Regions from separate parts of the Homo sapiens genome. Here region 1 is linked to region 2. Evidence: promoter capture Hi-C in human tissues and cell types (Jung and others, 2019). All regions are on one chromosome and are shown on one strand. The core of a region is centred on a gene start or on the middle of the fragment in contact, and the rest is flanking DNA. Distances in the headings are between cores, read along the strand shown.

Region 1 (4,567 bases), core at 1,276-3,775, 99 kb before region 2:
CTAGGCAACTGCTAGAACATGAGTTGCCAAACAGGAAAAGGAGGGGCATGGAGAACAGAGTAGAAGACACTGTTTCTAAATTTCACAGTTTTGCCATAGGTCATCCCTAATTTAATAACTTACACAAAATAAGGCTGCTGCTGGGGGCTTCACCTTCACAGTAGGACTGGCAGCCCCTGGAACTGTTCAGTGCCCAGCCTGCACAACAGTACGCAGCAGCTCTGAGAAACCTGACCCTTCAAAAAAAATTCTGGAGAGACCTCCAGACCCCAGAAGATGCATTCAGCTGCTCCCAGGCCTAATGCAATTATTAACCCTGTTCTCCTGCTTCTTTACCCACCAAGTTTTCTTTCTGCTAAACCTCTCTGCCCCATAGGCATTTAGAAGTGTGGAATATTTTAGCAAGAAAGGATTCAAGAGAAAACGAGGGCTCACTGCTTTCCCTACACATACACACCTACACACCCTCCTACAAAGCTTAGCATTGATGGTGAAAGATTATGTTCCTCCTGAAGATTTCTTTTTCCTCATTCCTGAGGTGTTTGGCTCTGGATATATTGAGGGAGGAGGCATGAGGCAGGGGCTGCCCCCTCCTTGAGCCATCCTCAGGCCTGATTTGCATAAGTTCCAGTCTCTTGGCCCAGTTTCTGTCCCTTCTCCAAGATCTGCCACCATCCCCAGAACACTGTGTCCTTAGCAGCCTGATCCCAGGCCCAAAAGCACTGAGCATTTCTCCCAAGAGCAGGAACTGGGAGCAGAGCAACCTTGTGACGAGTCCCACCTTCCTCCCTCTGAGCAGGGCTTCTCCCTCCGCAGCTGCCAACACTCCTAATGTTATTGTGCGCGGGAGGCCCCCAAGACGGATCCAGCAGGAGTGAATTAATAATTGCTGGCAACGAGCTCCTGCAGCAAGCAGCTCCTCCCCATCAGGGACCGTTTGCCCTTCTTCAGAGAGTCCTCCATGACTGCTTTGCAAACTCTGTGTGAACGAAAAGCTTAGTAGTATTATGTATTCTTAAGAGTCCCCTCAATTTCAGAAAAGCTCATGGCTGGGTGTCAGGACACTGACTTTCTTGGCTAGCTCAGCCACAACTGGGAGGTTAACCTTGAGTGGGTCAGAATCTCTGTAGGTCTTGTTTCCATATCTGTACATTTTTAGGTCTAGAAACCCAAGTGAATGAGCCATAACCCTTCCCCATCTCCAGACTCTATTGCTGTCACTTAAATTCAGTCCCTCCTCATGCACCTGAGATCTAGTGCCTGGGTCATTGTTCCTGGGCTACAAAGATGCTACAGCAGCTTCTTCACAGTTGATCTGACCTGGGGCACATGAACCAACAAACAGCCCCATCTCAGGTTCTTTCCTCCTCCACCTCCTAATGTGTCTCAGTCCACAGGTCCTTGGTCTCTACACGCCCCCTGTTGACTTCTCTTTGAGGCATATTTGGGGCTCACCCTAAGCCCTTGCTCCTTCCAGGGCCTTTAGCAAGAAGATTATGGTGCCCACCCACCTAGTTCCATGAATAATACAAACTAAATGTGCATTTTGGAAAGCAGCCAAAATATATGCTGAAATTTTCACTTTTTTTAAAGTTTCTGATAATGTTTGAAAAAGTTTATCAAGACTGCATTTTTCTTTTCTTTTCTTTTCTTTTCTTTTTTGAGATGGAGTCTCACCACTCTGTCACCCAGGCTGGAGTGCAGTGGTGTGATCTCGGCTCACTGCAACCTCCGCCTCCAGGGTTCAAGCAATTCTCTGCCTCAGCCTCCCAAGTAGCTGTGATTACAGGCCCCCGCCACCACGCCCGTCTAATTTTTGTATTTTTAGTAGAGACGGGGTTTCACCATATTGGCCAGGCTGATCTTGAACTCCTGACCTCGTGATCCACCAGCGTTGGCTCCTAAAGTGCTGGGATTACAGGCGTGAGCCACCACGCCTGGCTAGGCTGCATTTTTCTTAACCCACCTCACTGAGTCTTCCCACTGGGTGGGGTCCCCTAACCTTGCTTGAAAGGGCTCCAGAGAAGCTCTGCATGTTGGCCCCTTAGCACAGCTGCTTAAACTGAGTGTGGTCACCTGACAGGGCTAAACCAATCAGAATCTTGAGAGGAAAAACAAGTCTGAAGAGACAAAAAAGCTACAGCCCCCACAGAGTTGGGTGCTGGTGCTGTGAGGCTGAGGTCAGGGTCCTTGCAATGGTAAGGACAGTCAAGGGCAAGCCAAGTTACAACTGCTTGCAGAGGAAGCCAGACTAGAGGAGAAAAGAGCAGATGTGCAGACAAGAGACCAGTGCAGCTCCAGAGAGACAATCTGTCCCTGCTGACAACTCCTGATTCCTGGGAGACTTGGCTGCAGCCCCTGCAATTGAATGCCATGAGATTCCCTTGAGTGCTGACTCTTAACCCCCCTTCCCCTACCCTTGTTACCAAAAGTGTGGTCTGTGAGACAGCAGCATGGGCATCACCGGGGAACTTTTTAGAAATGCAGAACCTCTAGCCCTACCCCAGACCTAATGTAAACAAATCTGCATTTTAAAGAGATCTCTGGGTGATGTGCACATAAGGTCTGCTTTGGAGGGAGTTTCTCTTCCTGTTAAGACACCCTGCACTTGGTAAACCCCCACGCCTGCTGGTGTCTCTGCCACTCAGCCCCGCTGCTGCAGCCTCTCAACCCTGGCACTTCCCCAGCCACCCAGCTCAGCGCCTGGGTCTGACATCCAACAAATCCAGCAAGGAGTAAATTAATCATTGCTAGAAACAAGCCCCTGTAGCCAACCAGCCTCTTCCTTGAGAGGACAATCTGGCCTTCCTCACAGAGTATACCACCACTCTCTGCTTCCCTGACTCCAGGGGCAGGGGCGGGAGGGACTGCTGCCTGCAGCCCCATCGCTGCCGGGTTACACCCTGCAGGGAACTCTCCAGTTACTCTTAAGGCTGTGGGTCCTGCCTGCCCTCAGCTTGCTCAGTGGAACCTCTAGAACCAGCTTCTGCCCAGTTTCCCCAGCCCCTGGGGCAAAGTGTCCCCCTCTTTGTCAACCCACAGAAGGTCTTGGGGCTTGGCTGCTAGAGGCCTGCTCTGGTGACAGACACTGGACCTAAGCAGGTAGAGTCTTCTAGGCCCCCACTGGCATCCAGGAGCCAAGTCTCTAGGCTACAACTTCTCTGCCTGTGTCAGAGGTTCCAAGATTGAGTGTGTAAGACACTGGACTGATGGGAAGCCTCCTATGGGCAAGGACAGAGGAACACCATGCCACACAACCACACATACACAGTTCCTCCAGGAAGACTGGTCAGAGTGCAGCCAGAAAGCCCAGCCTGCTCAACAGAGAGGTCTTCATGTCATCTGGGTGGGTCAGAAGACTCAGTGAAGGAAGGAGGTACCCAACCCTGATGTTCTACCTAGGCCTCCTGCCTTACACATATTGCCAAATGTGGGCCAGAGTCTCCCTAAAACCACATAACCATAATCACTTGCATCTCCTATTGCTTTTAGAGTCTGCAAATGTTACTGTGCCTTATCTCCTTGAAGCTTCACAAGAGCTCCAACTTACTCTAAAGTGAACATGGTCATTCCCCAAATGAGAGACCAGGGCTCAGACAGGTGAAGTGGTTGACCCAAGGTCACACCAGTTGTGGTGGAGCTGGTGCTCAGACAGAGGTTTTCTGACACTGGTCTACTGGTCTACTGCTCTAGTGCTCTAGGCAGCCAAATTTCTTTTTTTTTAAATGTTTCATTTTTAACTTTTGTGGTTACATTGTAAGTGCATATATTTATGGAGTATATGAGATGTTTTGATACATGCAATGCACAATAATCACATCAGGGAAGATGGGGTATCCATCCCCTCAAGCACTTATCCTTTGTGTTATAAACAATCCAATTATACTCCTTCAGTTATTTTTAAATGTACAGTGAAGTTATTATTGACTATAGTCACCCTGTTGTGCTATCAAGTAGTAGATCTTATTCATTCTTTCTGGTTTTTTCTACCCATTAACCATTCCCACTTTCCTGCACCCCCTACTACCCTTCCCAGCCTCTGGTAACCATCCTTCTACTCTCTATGACCATGAGTTCAATTGTTTTCATCTTTAGATCCCACAAATAAGTGAGAACATGCAATGTTTGTCTTTCTGTGCCTGGTTTATTTCACGTAACATAATGACCTCCACTTCCATCCATGTTGCAAATGACAGGATCTCATTCTTTTTTATGACTGAATAGTACTCCATCATGTATATGTGCCATGTTTTTCCCCATTCATCTGTTGATAAACATTTAAGTTGCTGCCAAACTTTGGCTACTTTGAACAGTCATGCAACCAAATTTCTTAAAAGAGTTTTTTTTTTTGTGCTAGCCCATATTATTTTCCACCTCTCGATCTCTTCTCAACACACTCTGGACATCTTCCCTCATCTTGCCACAAAAACAGCTCTCAAAGTTACTGAAGAAATCTGTTATAAATTGACTTGGCACCCCAAAAGGATGTGTTTGAGTCCTAACCCCTAGGATCTGTGAATTTGACCTTATCTGGAAATATGTTCTTTGCAGACATAATCAAGTTAAG
Region 2 (4,001 bases), core at 1,127-3,626:
TGCAGATGCGCAGGGGGCGCTGGCGCGAGGTCCGGGTCCCAGCCATTCGCGGCCGGGCTGTGCTCGCGGAAACCGCTGAAATCCCTTCCTTTGGGACTCCGGCCCCATTTCCACCCACTTTCCCCACCTTCCGGGTCCTCCGCCCGGCAGCAGCAGCGCCAGGCGGGCCTGACCTTGCCCTGGGTACGCCAGCGGAAGCGCTGAGGCCGCTGTCCACCAGCCAAGTTCTGAACCTGTTCCCGTCTGGGTCTCCGGGGGAAGAGGGGTGAGGAGAGATGACGTTAGCCTAGGGGCGCTAAAGGTCACCAGCCAGCCCCAGGTTGGGGTGGGAGTGTTGCGGGGCTCGGAAGGAAAATAGAAAGTTCCTTCGACTGCGTGTACCCCCCAAGGAATATCTCTTGGGCGGGGACGGTGGGAGGGCTACATACTAAATCGCACTTGGGAGATGGAAGACAGCGGAAGAAAGGGCTGCGATTTGGGCTCCTGTAGGGGGCGCTCCTCCTTCCACGTCCCCACGCGGCTGCAGATGCCTGGCCTTATTGCTTTTAGCATTCCCAAGACTACAAGGTGGAAGAGGTGGAGAAGGGAACCCAGAGACACACCCCTCTGAGGAAGTCTCCAGCCACTCATCATCCCCCTCCCCAGTCTTATAAGAGCTTGTATTTATGGATGGCTGGAGCTGCATGTTCCGCTCTCTGACAATTCCAAGCACCTCTCATCCCTGCCACCCAGCTCCCTGCTTGGTCTCCCTACTCCAAGGAAACTCCTGACCCTCTTCTGAAAAAAAACCCAAAACACACTCCCTCGAGTTTGAGGGAAAGGAAAACATGGATAGGACGCTGACAGCAGGACCAAAATCGGGATTCTGAAGAATGTTTACTGAATTCAATCTACTTACCAAACCTATCGCCTAAAAAGAAAAATTTCTTCCAGTGAGTGGCTTTTGTTTTTTACCTTTCCTCCTTCGTGTGTATTTGCATAGCCTGCTCAATAAAGCCCTTCAGTAAGAATCATTAAGAATCCGTCTTGTTGCAGATCCGAGCTCCATCTCCCTGGCCGTCAGGGATGGGAGGGGGCTATCTGTGGGGCAGCGCAGCGCCCGGCCAGCCCCAGGATCCGCCCAGCCCAGATTTTGGCAGTGCCGAAGCTCCACACTTTCCTAAGCAGATGGTTAAGTTCCCCCCACGTTCCTGCCAGGTTTCAACGTCACGCTGTGATTTTGTTCTTCTGGAACCGGACGAGTGTTGCTTCCCAGAGTGGCCCTATTAGAACAGAAAGAAAATCCTCTAAATAGGCGGAACAAGGCATCAGGAGGAAAAAGTTCTCTAAATGCACTTTAATACGAGCCGGGTATTGTGTGGAATTCAGCGCCCATCACCGTTTAGCCGGAGAGTTATGGCAGTGATTGGGGATGAATAGAGGAACATAATGGATACATGTGGCGTTTGCTCATTATATTCAAGTTAGTCCAACTCCGCTGTGGAAACTGTTCAACTTTCTCTCCCCTTAGCTTGTCACAGTGAAATAATACAGACATTGGGGCCTCCAATGGGATCGCCTGCCACACCATTCTATTTCCACTGCTAACGAGGGCTTCATAAGCCTTTGATACAGTCTGATCTTTGAAACCTTTCCAAATCTCCTCAAGCTTATGCTAAATCCTATTTGGAACTTTTTTTTCCTTGCCTGCTAGCTCCCAGGGCTTAAGAAGGCCACTTGGACAGTGACGTGCATACTAACATATCGCGGGGCTCTTTTCTGAAAGGGAAGTGGCAGCTCTGATCACTGGGGCTCACACGAGCAAAACACAATTGAGTACACAAATTTGAATAAAATCAATTTTCCCTTATCCTTCAGGCTTCTTAATCGAGAGGCTATTCCAGGCACCGTAGCTAGGAGAGAAGGAAAGCAGAGCCTCATTCAGCAGAGCAAGTCTGTGGGTAGGGGGCTGCAAGGGTTTGGAAGCGTCAGAGGTGCAAAATGCAGAGTGTGTGTGTTGGCAGGGGCTGGGGGAAGGCGGAATCAGGAGCCACTGGGGTGAAACCCCAGCGTGTTCGCACTTAGTTCTAGCCGCGGCACGGAGGGAGGCAGGCGACAATTAACAAAACCATCCGCTCCTTTTACTCCTGGAGCCCTGTGCCAACTCCTCTACATGCAGGGTGCTGACAAGAAAAGGGGGAAAAAGCAAAAGGAGTTAAACAAAAGAAAGATTCCCTAATTTTCCTTTCTTGTTTTCCCCTCTAAGCCTTTCCACATTAAAGGGATTGTCAGAGGCAGGCGGAGGGGCGACGCGAGGGGGAGGCGGCCATTGGCTACCCGGCTCGGGTGATTAGCATATCGGCGGCTATAAAGGCAAAGGCGGCGCGAGGCGGCGCAGCTTCTGTAAGAGACGGAGAGGCGCAGAGTGAGGGCGGGTCCGCGCGTCCTCAGAGCCCGCTGGAGGCTCGGAGCTGCTACCCGCAGACTTCTCCCGCACAGGGCTCGCAAAGAGCGTGATTCCGAGAGCCTGAGACTGACGCCCGACCTGGAAACCAGAGAAGACTTCCTTAGCCTTTCGGATCGCACTTGAGGCTGGAGGCATGAGTCCTGTGAGGCGTTGGGGCAGCCCCTGCCTTTTCCCCTTGCAGCTCTTCAGCCTCTGCTGGGTGCTCTCAGTGGCCCAGAGCAAAACAGTCCGATACAGCACCTTCGAGGAGGATGCCCCCGGCACGGTCATCGGGACCCTGGCCGAGGACCTGCATATGAAAGTATCGGGTGACACAAGCTTCCGCCTGATGAAGCAATTCAACAGCTCTCTGCTCCGGGTGCGCGAAGGCGACGGGCAGCTGACCGTCGGGGACGCCGGCCTGGACCGCGAGCGGCTGTGTGGCCAGGCCCCGCAGTGCGTGCTGGCCTTCGATGTGGTCAGCTTCTCGCAGGAGCAGTTCCGGCTGGTGCACGTGGAGGTAGAGGTGAGGGACGTCAACGACCACGCGCCGCGCTTCCCCAGGGCCCAGATCCCGGTAGAGGTGTCCGAGGGTGCGGCAGTGGGCACGCGCATCCCCTTGGAGGTGCCGGTGGACGAGGACGTGGGCGCCAACGGGCTGCAGACCGTGCGCCTGGCCGAGCCGCACAGCCCCTTTCGCGTGGAGCTGCAGACGCGAGCGGACGGCGCTCAGTGCGCAGACCTGGTGCTGCTGCAGGAGCTGGACCGCGAGAGCCAGGCCGCCTACAGCCTGGAGCTGGTGGCCCAGGACGGCGGCCGCCCGCCGCGCTCCGCCACGGCTGCCCTCAGCGTGCGCGTCCTGGATGCGAATGACCACAGCCCGGCCTTCCCGCAGGGCGCCGTGGCCGAAGTGGAGCTGGCGGAAGACGCGCCCGTGGGCTCCCTGCTTCTCGACCTGGACGCAGCCGACCCCGACGAGGGACCTAACGGCGACGTGGTGTTCGCATTTGGCGCCCGCACCCCGCCGGAGGCGCGCCGCCTCTTTCGGCTTGACCCGCGATCAGGCCGCCTCACCCTGGCCGGGCCCGTGGACTACGAGCGTCAGGACACCTACGAGCTGGACGTGCGGGCGCAGGACCGCGGACCCGGGCCCCGCGCTGCCACCTGCAAGGTCATCGTGCGCATCCGAGACGTCAATGACAACGCACCCGACATCGCCATCACCCCGCTGGCCGCCCCAGGCGCGCCGGCAACCTCACCCTTCGCCGCTGCCGCCGCCGCCGCTGCACTCGGGGGAGCGGACGCTAGCTCGCCGGCGGGAGCCGGGACGCCGGAGGCTGGTGCCACTTCGCTGGTGCCGGAGGGGGCGGCGCGCGAGAGCCTGGTGGCCCTGGTCAGCACCTCGGACAGGGACTCGGGCGCCAACGGGCAAGTGCGCTGCGCCCTCTATGGGCACGAGCACTTCCGGCTGCAGCCGGCCTACGCGGGCAGCTACCTGGTGGTGACCGCGGCGTCGCTGGACCGCGAACGCATCGCCGAGTACAACTTGACGCTGGTGGCCGAGGATCGCGGCGCG

What was found. The method cuts DNA at HindIII sites, captures the fragments that hold promoters and counts their contacts. A contact is called where the count stands out against the background at its distance.
Region 1: a fragment that was not itself captured here is called in contact with the fragment with the promoter of PCDH8 in region 2 in 2 of the 25 tissues and cell types used here (H1 embryonic stem cells and dorsolateral prefrontal cortex).

What each region holds. Positions count from the first base shown.
Region 1 is chr13:52,946,096-52,950,662 of GRCh38, reverse strand. No RefSeq gene overlaps it. Among named protein-coding and RNA genes, the nearest start is that of OLFM4, 80 kb to the left of the region's middle. The HindIII fragment of the contact is 3,578 bases long and covers 737-4,314 here.
Region 2 is chr13:52,847,015-52,851,015 of GRCh38, reverse strand. PCDH8 (protocadherin 8) reads left to right here and starts at 2,376. Exons shown (of 3, transcript NM_002590.4): 1 at 2,376-4,001. The coding sequence starts at 2,580. RefSeq lists enhancers at 348-642, 1,988-2,282, 2,413-3,302, 3,303-4,001. The HindIII fragment of the contact is 11,047 bases long and covers 1-4,001 here.